4 separate regions of the Homo sapiens genome follow, and regions 1, 2 and 4 are each linked to region 3. The links are contacts of gene promoters, found by promoter capture Hi-C in blood cells and fetal thymus (Javierre and others, 2016). All regions are on one chromosome and are shown on one strand. The core of a region is centred on a gene start or on the middle of the fragment in contact, and the rest is flanking DNA. Distances in the headings are between cores, read along the strand shown. Region 1 holds the start of POLE2 (DNA polymerase epsilon 2, accessory subunit). Region 2 holds the start of KLHDC2 (kelch domain containing 2). Region 3 holds the start of NIN (ninein). Region 4 holds the start of RPS29 (ribosomal protein S29).

Region 1 (3,071 bases), core at 260-2,759, 1.1 Mb after region 3:
GTTGTTGCTGTTGTTTTGAGACAGAGTCTCACTCTTGTTGCCTAGGCTGGAGTGTAATGGCCCCATCTCGGCTCACCGCAACCTCTGTCTCCCGGGTTCAGACAATTCTCCTGCCTCAGCCTCCCGAGTAGCTGGGATTACAGGCATGCGCCACCATGCCTGGCTAATTTTTTTGTATTTTTGTAGAGACGGGGTTTCTCCATGTTGGTCAGGCTGGTCTCGAACTCCTGACCTCAGATGATCCGCCCACCTCGGCCTCCCAAAGTGCTGGGATTACAGGCGTGAACCACTGCGCCCGGCTTTTTTTGTTTTTGAGACAGAGCCTTGCTTTGTTGCCCAGGCTGGAGTGGTGGCACGATCTCGGCTCACTGCACCCTCCGCCTCCGAGGCTCAAGAGATTCTCCTGCCTCAACCTCCCCAGGAGCTGGGATTACAGGCGCGCGCCACCACGCCTGGCTAATTTTTTTTTTTTTTTTTTTTTTTTGGTAGAGACGGGGTTTCACCATGTTGGCCCGGCTGTTCTCGAACTCTTGGCCTCAAGTGATCTGCCAGCATCGGCCTCCCAAAGTTCTGGGATTACAGATGTGAGCCACCGCGCCCGGGCCCAGAGGTTTTTAAAATGCAAAAACAAATACATATACTTTTGTTTCCCTTCCTTCATTAAACTTCGCTTTTTTTTAAAAAAGAAAAAAACCCGTATACGTTGGAGGTCACTTTATATTGGTACTGTGAAATCATCCTCCTGTTTTATAAGCCGCGTGTTTACTTATAAGCACTCCACGGGTTAGTCAACTCATTGGAGCAAGCGTTTTGAAGTGTGGCAGATTGACAGTCCACCTGAAATCAGAATAACTGAGTTCAAATCCTGACTACACCATTTAACTCGTCGTTTCATCTTGAGCAAGTCCTTTACCATTTTTGTGTCTCAGTTTTCTCATCTGTAAAATGAGGCTGTTGTGGAAAAGACAGTAGACAGCTCACTGGGCTGTCATGAGCAACACATGAATTCACACATTTAAAGTGCTTATGACAGTGCATGGCGCATACGAAGCCCTCAAGTTAAATAAAAATCGGGGTAGGTGGGAGCGATGGAGATTTATAACAGCTTCCGGTAAATGTCGAGGCACAGTATTTCCAGAGCTTGTGCGAAGTAGGGAACCCAACAGCTCTCATGGCCTCGAAAGAAGGGGGATCCTGTGTCCGGGAAGCTCGGCCGCAGTCCTGCAATGTCTAGGGCAGCGGTGAGAGCGCTGTGGCTGGCTCAACGCAGCCCGACACCAGGGAAGACGCTCTGGCCCTCAGTTTCCCGGCAGCAAAGGAGCGCGAGGTGGTCTCCACTTTCAGCCTACTCGGTCCGGGGTTGCGAACTGTAAGGTCTGAGTTGCTGCGGCGCAGGCAGCGGAGACCAAGCAGGGATCTTAACAGGGTTTAGCGCCACGCGGGCCAGGGCCGAGGCCGGAGCTGGGAGGGGCGCGCCCGGGAAGGGGCGGAGCTGCGGCGGTGGCGCCAAATCGCAAATATGGCGCCGGAGCGGCTGCGGAGCCGGGCGCTCTCCGCCTTCAAGTTGCGGGGCTTGCTGCTCCGTGGGTGAGTGGGCTCGGGCAGCTTGAAGGGCGAGAGGGAAGAGCTGGGGCCCGTCTGCCTGGTGCGGCAGCGGGACGCACCGCGGCGGCTCCCCGCGCGCCGAGAGGGGGCTTGACCTTAAATTTCAGAGTTCTAAGAAGCGGTCGGGCGCGGTGGCTCACGCTTGTAATCCCAGCACTTTGGGAGGTCGAGGCGGGCGGATCACGAGGTCAGGAGATCGAGACCATCCTGGCCAACATGGTGAAGCCCCGTCTCTACTAAAAATACAAAAATTAGCTGGGCGTGGTGGCGCGCGCTTGTAGTCCCAGTTAGTTGGGAGGCTGAGGCAGGAGAATCGCTTGAACCCGGGAGGAGGAGGTTGCGGTGAGCCGATATCGTGCCACTCTACTCCATCCTGGCGACAGAGAGAGACTCCATTAAAAAAAAGTTCTAAGAAGCGAGGTGGATCTTGAGGCTGCCGTGCCTTCTTTGGTTTCCCCGACCCATGCGAGGAGTTTAATGTTTCTTCTAGGCGGGCCGAGGCTCTTCTGCACATGTCAAACTGAGCCCGAGAAGCTGCAACCTATCTATGGCAGCCGGTTATCAACATTGTGACCTGGACAGCTCTCAGGCTCCCGGGAAGGTTGCTGAGACATAAGATGAGAGACCCGAGAAAGCCCACTTGCACGTCTGCAGTTGCCAATTTATGTGAAAGTCAGGTTTCCTGGGCATATCCGTGTTTTTGAGGACCTATAGAACATATGAACCTTCCCAAGATTTCTCTCATTAAATCTGCTCCGTGTTTTAGAGTTCTATATGTACGTGTGTGTGTGTGTGTGTGTGTGTGTGTGTGTGTGTGGTGTGTGTGTATATATATATATGTATTTTTTTTTTTTTGAGTCATGGTCTCACTCTCGCCCAAGCTGGAGGGCAGTGATGCGAACTTGACTTACTGCAGCCTCAACCTCCTGGGCTGAAGTAGCTGGGACTGCAGGCATGGGCCACCATACCTGGCTGATTTTTTGTTGTTGTATGTTTTTTAGAGACGGGGTCTGGCTATGTTGCCCAGGCTGGTCTTGAACTCCTGGGCTCAAGTAGTCCTCGCGCCGTGGCCTCCCAGAATGCTGGAATTACAGGCGTGAACCACTGCGCCTGACCTAGAACACAATATTTTATACATATTGAAATACCTGCTGGATTGGATATACCTCTCTGTATCAGTTTTTATTGCTTTTGTGTGTGTAGATTTTTGGTTGGTTTTGTGAGTTTTATGGGACTTTTAACTGTGCTTTGGGAGATGCCTTGGGAGAAAATAATGAATTTTGTTCAATTGGTCCTTGACATTTTGAAAGCATGAGGAACTGATGAATTAACTTTCTTTTCGCTTAGAATTTGACCTAATATTAAGCTTTTGTTCATTAATTATTTCAGTCATAAGTATACTTAAATCTGTTAGCTGCAAAGCACCGTGCTGGGGTAAGGGGGTGCAATAGAGAGCAAGAGCTTTG
Region 2 (3,335 bases), core at 456-2,955, 1.1 Mb after region 3:
TGATTCTCCTGCCTTAGCCTCTCAAGTAGACGGGATTAGGGCGCCCGTCACCACGCCAGGCTAATTTTTTTTTTTGTATTTTTAGTAGAGACGGAGTTTCACTATGTTGGCCAGGCTGGTCTCGAGCTCCTGACTTCAGCTGATCCACCTACCTTGGCCTCCCAAAGTGCTAGGATTACAGGCGTGAGCCACCGCGCCCGGCCCCCTTTCTATTTTCTAACCACATTCATTGGAAACTGGGGAAAACACTGCAGATTCATTAGGATTGGCAAAAAATTACTTTTGCAGTTAAACCAAAATAAAGTATCAGGACAGCCATCTTTGAAAGCTATCTCAAAAATGGTCAACTATGATCAAGTCAGCTGTACCATAAGCTAAAAACAATCACAAAGCAAGTCATCCAAGGCACGGGCGTGGGGAGGGCGGAGAACATTTTCAAGACCAAAGAGGAATTTTGTGGTAGGACTGGCTCAGAGCCATCCTAGCAAATAAAATTCTAGATTTCCGAGGTTAGCAGGGTAAAGAATGGCAACTGGCTTTAAACTGCTAACTAATCACGTTGTTTATAACCAGGGGATCGGAGAGTCAAAGAGCTGCACTCTGTAGTTCATTTGATGCTGGGGATTTTTTGGTTACTGGTGGAGCTTTTCCATTATCTTAATAGGGGTGTCTGCTGAAAAACTTCAACCCAGCTGAAGCCAGAAGGAAAACAGTCCTGATGGCCATTTGCACAGGCGGGAAGGCTGAATAAGGTGGTTCCTGTAACCTTTTGGAATTCCAGTTTTCCTACACCTCGGCCTCCCTGTAAGTGGGCAGCGGTTCCCAGCTCCAGAGGGTGAAGTCCTCGTAGGCCGTCCTCATAACGCGTCTGAGTGATATCACACACCGTCACCTTTCACACCCCAACCCTTCCGAATGCACCGCCCAAGCAACATTAACAGGGCCTTCCCCGGAATAACGCTCCAATGGCAACAACGGGGGTGGGAGTGAGTTGGCTTTGTGAGCACCAGGGTGACATGACAGCAGCCCTGGAGGTTCGAGACGGGTTGGGGTACTCGAGAGAAGGAAGATTCCCGCGCGCAAAAAAAAAACAACCAACGGGCAGAGTCTGAGGTGGGGCGCGCGACGCAGGCGGGGAGCGCCCTCGGCGGCCCGCTCTGGCCTCCCCGCCTGGCCGCGAACGCAGACCCGAGTCACAGCCGAGCGACGTCCGTCGCGGCCCGGCCACTCACTGACCTTGTAGCCGCCCCAGACGAACATGTGGCGCCCGTCGCTGACGGCTACGTGGCCGCTGCGCTCAGCGGGGCAGGCAAGCTCCATGGACTCATAGCTCTCGAAGGCTGGCCCAGGCAAGTCGTCAGCCCGCAGATCCTCGTTGCCATCAGCCATCTTGAGGCTGCACTTTTGCTAACCAACAATGCCCACACCCGCGAGGGGCCAAAAAAACAAAGGAAAAGGAGAGAAATGCACAGCGGCGCGAGGCAAGGAAAAGGCGGTGGCGAAAGGGACGGCGTTGAGGCCTCTCTGCCGCCTGCGCTCGCGTTTCCCAGCCTCCTCGGCCGAGGACGGCTCTCCGCCGCCGCCGGGGCACGCCTGCAGACAGAGGGGCCGCGAGCGGAGCCGGGCGGCGGCGGCGCGGGCCCGGGACTCGGGGCACTGCAGGGAAGCGGTCCGCGTCGGGCCGGCTCCCTATTGCAGCCCGTCTGCCCCGCCTCCTGCAGTCCACGGCCTTGTTTACGCCGCGGCCGGAAGCCGCCCGTTCCGCTGACGCCGCCCGCCGAGCTCCGGAAGCGAGGCTGCCGCTCAGCGCCCCCAGCGCCGGGTCCTCCAGCCGCCGCCGCCGCCGCCGCCGCCTCTGCCCGCGCCTCCGCCTACGGCCTGGGCACCGCAGATCTATGGGGCCCGGCGACTTCTAGTCGCGCTTCGAGTCTCCTTTCACTGAGGGAACCACAGGGATAATGTCCTGAATCGGTCCCTGAAAGCTGCTGAATTTTAGCCGGATTGCCGCAATTTTTTTTTTCTTCCCGAGGATTTCTATTCGTTTGATTGAGGGATGATCTCAGAGGGTTCACAGCCCGGGCAGGGGCACCAGAATTGCTCCACTAGCAAGTTTCTGGTCTCGCCTTAGAGTCGATGCAGGCCCTGCTGTTCTGCGGGCGCGAGGGCAGTCGCTTAGCTCTCACGTGGGGCCCAGCCCGATCCCCGGGGGCCTCTCCTGAGCTCCTGCCGCCCCTGCCGGGCGCCGCCTCTGCGGGAATCTGACGTTGCCGCCGCCGCCGCTGCCGCCGCCAGCCGGGCTGCAGAGTTGGCTTGAAAAGCGTTTCCGAAGCCGTAACCACCCTTTTCTTCAGAAAGAAAGGCGGATCCTTTTCACGCACACACAGCTTTCTCTTATATGATACCTTTCAATTGGGCCAAAAGAAAATTACGAGTTACTGTGCTTGATACCTCACCTGTAAAATAGGGTGGGACAAAAATAATCTTAAATTCTTGATCTTACAGTGCCTGTAGAATTTATCGTGTTTGGTAGGAGGGACGTGCTTCATTATCTCCATTTCCCTCATCTTCTGGTTGGGAGCACTCCATAGAAAAGGAACACTTTGAACAATAAAAGGCTTTTTTTTTTTAATTATTAAAATGCTTATAGCCTGCCACTCCTCCCCTAGTGTGCCAGTGTGTTTACTTGAACTCAAGAACTTGAAAGTTACTTAAGAGGATTAATTAAAGCCTTCAACAAGGAAGCAAATCACCTTGAGGCTGTTAAGACCTTATCTGCCATCCACCCTGGTTGGTGCCCTCAAATCTGTCTGGTTCACAGAATTCCTTGCAGCAGTGTCTTCTCCCAGTCGAATTATGCTCACTAGACTTTGGGGTTATCGAAGTTCCTTGTGAACCAACCTCGTGAATCTGATCGAGTCACTTAAAAACCTTGAGCTGGCTCCCGTCGTCCTTAGTAGAATCCAAAATTAATATCTCGGCTGGGCGCGGTGGCTCACGCCTGTAATCCCAACACTTTGGAAGGCCGAGGCAGGCGGATCACCTGAGGCCAGGAGTTCGAGACCAGCCTGGCCAAAATGGCGAAACTCTGTCTCTACTGAAAATACAAAAAAATTACACAGGCTTGGTGGCCGGCGCCTGTAATCCCAGCTACTTGGGAGGCTCAGGCAGGAGAAACTCTTGAAGCCGGGAGGCGGAGGTTACAGTGAGCCAAAAGGGCACCATTGCACTCCAGCCTGGGCAACAAGAACGAAACTCCGTCTCAAAAAAAAAAAAAAAAAAAAAAAAAAATTCATATCACAGTGCTGTGCAAGAAGACCCAGCATGGTCCAGACCCA
Region 3 (3,303 bases), core at 593-3,092:
AGCAATTCTGATCTTCCTGCACAGGGAGTGAATGCCACTTCCAATATCCCCTGACCCCCAGGAATCACTGTTTTAAACTAATGATCAATATCATCCTTAAGGATTCTTGCAGGTTAAAAAGCGATGCTTGGAGAGGTAACCAGTAGGATGAGGCTTCCATGGCAGAGATTAGGTGAAACAAGAAAGACACCTCTTCATTCTTACCTTCCAAGACTGTTGGCTGTTTTAGTGCCCAGTGAGCATTATTGTCTGTCTTACAAGATGACCTCTATGTAAGTATTCTGGTAACAGGTTAGCTATCCTCTTAATGAACTGCGTGTGTGTGTGTGTGTGTTGTATCATATTACTGGATGACTGAACAACCATGCATACAGTGTATGAGTGTGTGTTTGTGTGTGTATGTGTACTTATTCAAGACTGTTTAAAAAGGAGAGAGGAGCATAAATCTCTCTTATTCTGCAGGCACGCTTATATACCGTGTTGAAAGAAGAGAGCCTGGGCTTTTGAATAAGACTGAGATGTTTAAAATTTTTAAAAAAATTTTTTGAGGTAACTGTAAATTCGCTTGAAGTTGTAAGGAATAATAGAGAGATTCCCTATAGACGCTTCACTTAATTTTTCTCAATGGTAACATTTTGCATAACTGTAGAACAATATTACAATCAGTAAATGGACATTAGTGTAGTCCAAATGTCTTATTCAAATTTCATGAGTTTCACGTGCTCTCATTTGTGAGTGTATATTCAGTTCTATGCAATTTTGCCACATATGTGATCTGCTTTTGAATCTCAGTTCTGTGGAGTTCCTGCTGTGTGATCCTGAGGAAGCTCTTTGACTTCTGGGAGATCCATTTTCCTCATCTGCAAAATAATGTCTGCCTCCTAAGAGTGATGTGAGAATTAGATAAGATAATTTCTGTCGAGTTTCTAGCGCACTGGATTCTCAAGGAATGCTGGTTTCCTCTTGTCTGTTGCTTGCTTTCTCGGTAGAAAAGGAATCACCAGTTTCCTGCTAAAATAACCAGACTTGTGGGTTGTAATCCATCAGGCGGATCCTTCAAGGGCAACACATTTAACCCTGCAGCTCAAAAAGAACCATGGCCTGGACTTGGGATCCTATTTGACTGCAATGAGATCAGAAGTGTAGGGATGGGGGAGTGAGAACGCAGACTCTGGGGTAGTAGGTAGGAGGCGATTAATATCGAGCAACTGTTGGGCTGGGAACCACCAACTCCAAGGAGTTTTCGTCCTGTGTGGCTTGCGACCGAGGGTTAGCTTCACCCGGAGAAGGCTGCACAGGGGCGGGAGCCTGTGAGGACGTGGTGGGCAGGTGCGGAAGCCAGTGTAGACCCGGCAGGAGGGTCGCGCTCGCTCTACAGGGTTCCGAGTCACTTCTACAGCCCTTCTGCCTCCTGAACACCCTTTCCAATGTTGATGGCCAATCGACACCCGAGGGCTGGGAAATCACCCCCTTAAAGTCCCGCTTGCTGAAGGCGGGGGCCCTTCCTCTGCGCGAAGACGCTGCGGCCCGAGTGTCCGCGGTGCGGGTGAGTGTAGGCGTGTTGGGAAAGAAAGGGAGGCGGACAGGCAAGGGGCGAGGGTGGCAGCGCCAGCCCCAGCTCGGTGGCGACCTCGGGGCGCCAGCCTCCTACACCCGCACCCGGAGCCCCGGCGTTTCTAACTTCAGATCTCGGAGGCGGGCGCTCGGAGCGGGAGGGCGCGTCTGCGAGGGCTCAGGCGGCGCCGCCCGCTCCTCCCTCCGCTGCCTGAGCCGCGCGGGCCGCAGAGGAGGAGCCGCGCCGGGGCCGGCGTCGCCCTGACTCCTCCTCCCCGCGCGGGCCCGGCCCTTCCTCCCCGGCGTCCAGAGCTCCGGGTGGCCGCGGCCGAGCCGGGAGCCGAGCGCGCTGGGCGCGGCCGTCCCGCTGCCGCCGCCAAGCCCGGAGTGCGCCAGCGGCCATGGTTCCCGCGGCGGCGCCGGGCGCCTGAGCCCCGGGACGCAGTAAGTGGCGCAACCCCGGGGACCCGGACCCACGGCCTGGGGGTGCACGGAGGCCTCGCGCTGCCCCCGCGCCGTCGGCGAGGCCCTGAGAGCCCGGAGCGAACTGGGCACCGGATCACTCGGGGGCTTCCCATTTGGGGTCCGGGGCCAGCGGGGCGCAATCCCTGCGGGCCGGGAGGAAGCAGCGGCCGGGCGGGAGGACGAGGCGGGGACGGGGCTGCTTCGGAGGCGGGAGGAGGGGCCGGTCCCGGAGGCGCGGGCTGCGCGGGCGGGGGCGGGCCGGCGGGGGCGGGGAGGATGCGCGCTGCAGCCCGCGGCCCCCGAGAGCCGCGCTTTTGTAAGAGCTGGCCCCTTACATATGGAAATGACGCTCACGCGGGTCCCCATTCGCGTCCTTTTGAAGGACGCCCGCCCGGAACCGCTGCGCCGGCTGCGAAGTATTGTCCCGTTTCTCCAGCCCTAACAAAGCGTCCTCCTTCGCTTTGCAGAGCGCTGGAGGCGGGCTGCCGGCTGTGCGGGCGCTCCGGAGAGACCGACAGAAGGTAGGCGAGGGCGGCGGGGCCGGGGGAGCGCGCTGCCTGCCCACACAATGGGCTGTCTGAGGTTTCTGGTAGTGGCGATGGGCAGGCGAGTTGAGGACGCATCGCAGGTGGCCAGGGACTTGGGAGGCGCGCTTGTCCTGCGGCCGCACCTCCGCTTCCCCGCGCGGCAGCACCGCTGGGTTTGGGCACTTCCAGTACCCCCGACGCCCCGGCCGCCTGCCCGGAGCTGAAAGCCGCTTCTGTGCTTTGACCGAGAGCAGGCTTGAGTCCCCGAGGGAGCAGAAGGGGTGGTGGTTCCGTTGGCATGTGCCGCCCGTACAGCCTTGTGATTGAGACGCTGCAGAGGAAACTGCATGGGGAAATCCGAGGTGTTAGCCTGGGCTGTCTGAGTAGCGGAGAGCTGCTTGGAGCCCGGAAAGTGGAGATTTTTGGAGGTGTGCGGGGTCGATGCGCGTAAACAGTTTCCCAGTATAATGCCCAGGAGAAGGGGAAAGAACAAAATGACATTTGGTTATTGCCTAAAAGGTGTGGCATGGAGGTATGGAGTGTCGGGGAAGGAAGCTTCCAGCGGCTAGGCTTCTGTAGCTACCGAAGCGGCCCCTGACAGAAGGACACTAGGTGATGGGAACAGTCACTGCTTCCAGCTCTCGCTGCGAAGTTAAAAGAGATAGAGACGGAAAGAGGCAATTTCCCTAACCCCAGCCCTGACAACCCGAGGTGAAGGCACCAACAAAATGGGAGCTGGAAAGACTGCCCTACCATA
Region 4 (3,304 bases), core at 207-2,706, 1.2 Mb after region 3:
AGGTCTACCTCAAAGGTCTCTCAAATGTACCTCGAACTGGAATTAATTTCTCTTCTTGGCTCCTTTCGTACTTCATGAGCACACCCATGATTTAATACAGAATATTTTCCTTAGCTGTACATATGTTGTTGGTGCACAAACGTTGTATGTTGAAGTCTTGGAGATAATCCTGTTTCCCACAGATTAGAAAATTTTGAGGGCAAGGAGCAAGTTATATCTAGTTTACAAATCTCTGACTCCCCTCCTTCCTTAATCATATAATACAATGCCTAACTTAATGATTGGGTAGGGGGACCCCACTAGAACCCTGACATAACATACCTTAAAGAAGTGTTGTATTTCAATTTATAAAAGTTTATATGTAAAAGTTTCTGGAATTGTTGCACCCTGTGCTACATTTTATAAATCTAGTTAAAGCTTTGATTTCAGAGCAGTTTTATCTGGAGGCATTATAAATGACCATATGGAATGTAGGTATCTTTCAGCAGAAATTCGTTTATTGACATTGGTTTTTTGCATTTTTGCATTTGCTTTTCATTACTTGTTTTGTCACCAAATTATCTGGTCAAAGCAACATACACTGCACATTACTTGTTTATTACTTTACATTCAGCCAATTACATTTAAGAATCAAATACACTAAATGCCAAAGAATCTCATTTTTTTTTGGAATGGTGTAGGTGTATTTCTTGGAGGAGTGTGTCAAAAAAATAAATTTGAAAACGTACTCTCTTTAACAAAATAAAAGCAAACCCTACCGTTGACTCGTGATCATTACAGCTGATTTTAAGTTGTTTTGTAAATTTATTCCAGTAGGTGTCACTGGTGAGTCGAGGAAAAACTCCTTTCCCAAGTGTAACGTTTTAATTAAAAGAAAGTAAAAGGTTTAATCAATAAAAAAGACTATGAGAATATTCATCTCTTGAGAGTCCAAAATTAACGTATTTATTGTTCAAAAGAGACGGGGTCTCGCTATGTTGCCCAGGCTGGAGTGCAGTGGCTATTCACAGGCGCGATCCCACTACTGATCAGCACGGGAGTTTTGACCTGCTCCGTTTCCGACCTGGGCCGGTTCACCCCTCCTTAGGCAACCTGGTGGTCCCCCGCTCCCGGGAGGTCACCATATTGATGCCGAACTTAGTGCGGACACCCGATCGGCATAGCGCACTACAGCCCAGAACTCCTGGACTCAAGCGATCCTCCAGCCTCAGCCTCCCGAGTAGCTGGGACTACAGGCACGCGCCACCGCGCCCGGCGGTCGGATACCGGCGCAGAATAGCACTAGAAGCTGTGGTATGGTGACGTCATCAACTGGGCCAGCCCACAACGCCTCTAAGATTTCATTTTACTCACCCAGCGAAACAACCTGACCACACTGCGCACGCGTTTCCTTTGAGCACTGCATTCTGGGTAAACTGTCTCAAAAATTTGAAGAGCGCATGCGTGGGCCAGCTTCTTCCTTTTACCTCGTTGCACTGCTGAGAGCAAGATGGGTCACCAGCAGCTGTACTGGAGCCACCCGCGAAAATTCGGCCAGGGTTCTCGCTCTTGGTGAGAAATAGTTTGTGATTTTGGGGAAGCGTTGCCGTGGAGCGCTAGGCTGCTTAAAATCTCAAGTAGAGGAGGCCACGGGCGGCACGAGGGAGCACGCCGACTGGGAGTCGCTGGTGCCGCCATTACAGGCCTGTACTGTGGCTTGGGAGTCCCGGGATGCGGGTAGTAGCCGTCTGAGTGCGGAGTCTTGTAATTTCTATGACCTGCAAAACCGCTGTCTCTTTTCTTACAGTCGTGTCTGTTCAAACCGGCACGGTCTGATCCGGAAATATGGCCTCAATATGTGCCGCCAGTGTTTCCGTCAGTACGCGAAGGATATCGGTTTCATTAAGGTAGGCGTCTGCAGGCGTACTCCATGTTGTTTGGGCAGAGAAGGTTGTGGGGGTTATTTTTTCCGCGAAAGACAAACGGACAGATCTTCCCTGGAGTGGTAATTCTGAGCATTCGACCAAGAGCTTTTCCTCTTTTTTTAGTTGGTAGCTGGTGACAGTGTTGATGGTTTGGGCAATCAAATTAATAGAATGGAGAAGGTGAAGGACTTAGTCTTTCCTACTCCCTTTTTTACCTAGATAGCTTAGCCAGTTTTAGGTGCCGTGTATTGTGTTTGGTGAAATTCACTTTAGAGAAGCCACTAAAATTGTTTTACATTTGTTTCATTTATCAATCTTGTAAGTACCTATTCTCTTTTTTTTTTTTTTAGAGATAGGGTCTCCCTCTGTCGCCCAGGTTGAAGTGCAGTGGCGTTGTTACGGCTCACTGCAGCCTCGAACTCCTCCTGGTCTCAGGCGATCCTCTTGCCTTGGCGTCCCGAGTAGCTGGGACTAAAGGCTCTTGCCACCACGCGCGGCTGTACCTAGATATTTTCTAACCAAATATATGTATTAACCGCTGACCCCAAGTTTTTTTTTTTTTTTTTTTGAGTCGGAGTCGCACTCACCCAACCTGGAGTGCGATGGCGTGATCTCCGCTCAGTGCAACCTCCGCCTCCCCGGTTCAAGCGATTCTCCTGCCTCAGCCTCCTGAATAGCTGGGATTACAGGCGCCTGCCACCATGTCCGGCTAATTTTTTTATTTTTAGTAGAGACGGGGTTTTACCATGTTGGTCAGGCTGGTCTCGAACTGCTGACCTCGTGATCCGCCTGCTTCGGCCTCCCAAAGTGCTGAGATTACAGGCGTGAGCCACCGCGCCCGGCCAACCCAAAATGTTTGAAAGCGTCATACACTGGAATGAACTTAAAGTTTGGGGCCGGAAAGACATTGTTAAGATTCAGCAAACAATGGTCTGCCATTTAGTGCTTCTATCTCTTGATCATCTTAGTCAAGCTAGTGTTTATATGAAACTTTTGACTGTGAAACTTTTGGCTTCTGAAAATCTTTTAAATAGTAGTTTGGGTTTTTTTTTTTAAGGTGAAAACGAATTTATTATTGGCTCTTTGAGATAAAAATCACCAGCTTTCTGATCAATTATTTTGTATTGGATAGTACTGTTCTATAATGATGTAAATTTTTTTTTTTGTTTTGAAATTGGGTCTCCCTCTGTTTCCCAGGCTGGAGTGCAGTGGCGTGATCTCAGCTCACTAGCCTCCCCCTCCCGGATTCAAGCGATTCTCCTGTCTCAGCCTCCCTAGTACCTGGGATTACAGGCGTCTGCCACCACGCCCGGCCTATTTTTATTATTTTGTGGAGATGGGATTTCACCATGTTGGCCAAGCTGGTCTTGAGGTCCTGACCTCAGGAGATGGGCCTGCCT

What was found. The method cuts DNA at HindIII sites, captures the fragments that hold promoters and counts their contacts. A CHiCAGO score of 5 or more calls a contact.
Region 1: a contact is called between the fragment with the promoter of POLE2 here and the fragment with the promoter of NIN in region 3, in 2 of 17 cell types (non-activated CD4 T cells and naive CD4 T cells). The highest score is 5.6, in non-activated CD4 T cells.
Region 2: a contact is called between the fragment with the promoter of KLHDC2 here and the fragment with the promoter of NIN in region 3, in 7 of 17 cell types (monocytes, total CD4 T cells, naive CD8 T cells and 4 more). The highest score is 10.5, in monocytes.
Region 4: the fragment with the promoter of RPS29 here is called in contact with the fragment with the promoter of NIN in region 3 in 9 of 17 cell types (activated CD4 T cells, non-activated CD4 T cells, naive B cells and 6 more); the score reaches 9.9 in activated CD4 T cells.

What each region holds. Positions count from the first base shown.
Region 1 is chr14:49,686,652-49,689,722 of GRCh38, reverse strand. POLE2 (DNA polymerase epsilon 2, accessory subunit) reads left to right here and starts at 1,509. Exons shown (of 19, transcript NM_002692.4): 1 at 1,509-1,587. The coding sequence starts at 1,520. RefSeq lists a silencer at 1,397-1,446 and enhancers at 751-1,510, 1,511-2,272. The HindIII fragment of the contact is 3,892 bases long and covers 1-2,973 here.
Region 2 is chr14:49,766,523-49,769,857 of GRCh38, reverse strand. KLHDC2 (kelch domain containing 2) reads right to left here and starts at 1,705. Exons shown (of 13, transcript NM_014315.3): 1 at 1,237-1,705. The coding sequence starts at 1,389. RefSeq lists silencers at 1,476-1,655, 1,826-1,905, 2,246-2,305. The HindIII fragment of the contact is 13,494 bases long and covers 1-3,335 here.
Region 3 is chr14:50,829,701-50,833,003 of GRCh38, reverse strand. NIN (ninein) reads left to right here and starts at 1,842. Exons shown (of 31, transcript NM_020921.4): 1 at 1,842-1,998; 2 at 2,487-2,540. RefSeq lists silencers at 1,501-1,950, 2,001-2,280, 2,351-2,400, 2,421-2,540 and an enhancer at 3,111-3,160. The HindIII fragment of the contact is 8,436 bases long and covers 1-3,103 here.
Region 4 is chr14:49,584,532-49,587,835 of GRCh38, reverse strand. It overlaps RPS29 (ribosomal protein S29), which reads left to right and starts at 1,456. Exons shown (of 3, transcript NM_001032.5): 1 at 1,456-1,551; 2 at 1,787-1,886. The coding sequence starts at 1,490. It also overlaps RN7SL1. RefSeq lists enhancers at 896-1,405, 1,278-1,777, 2,376-2,425. The HindIII fragment of the contact is 6,928 bases long and covers 420-3,304 here.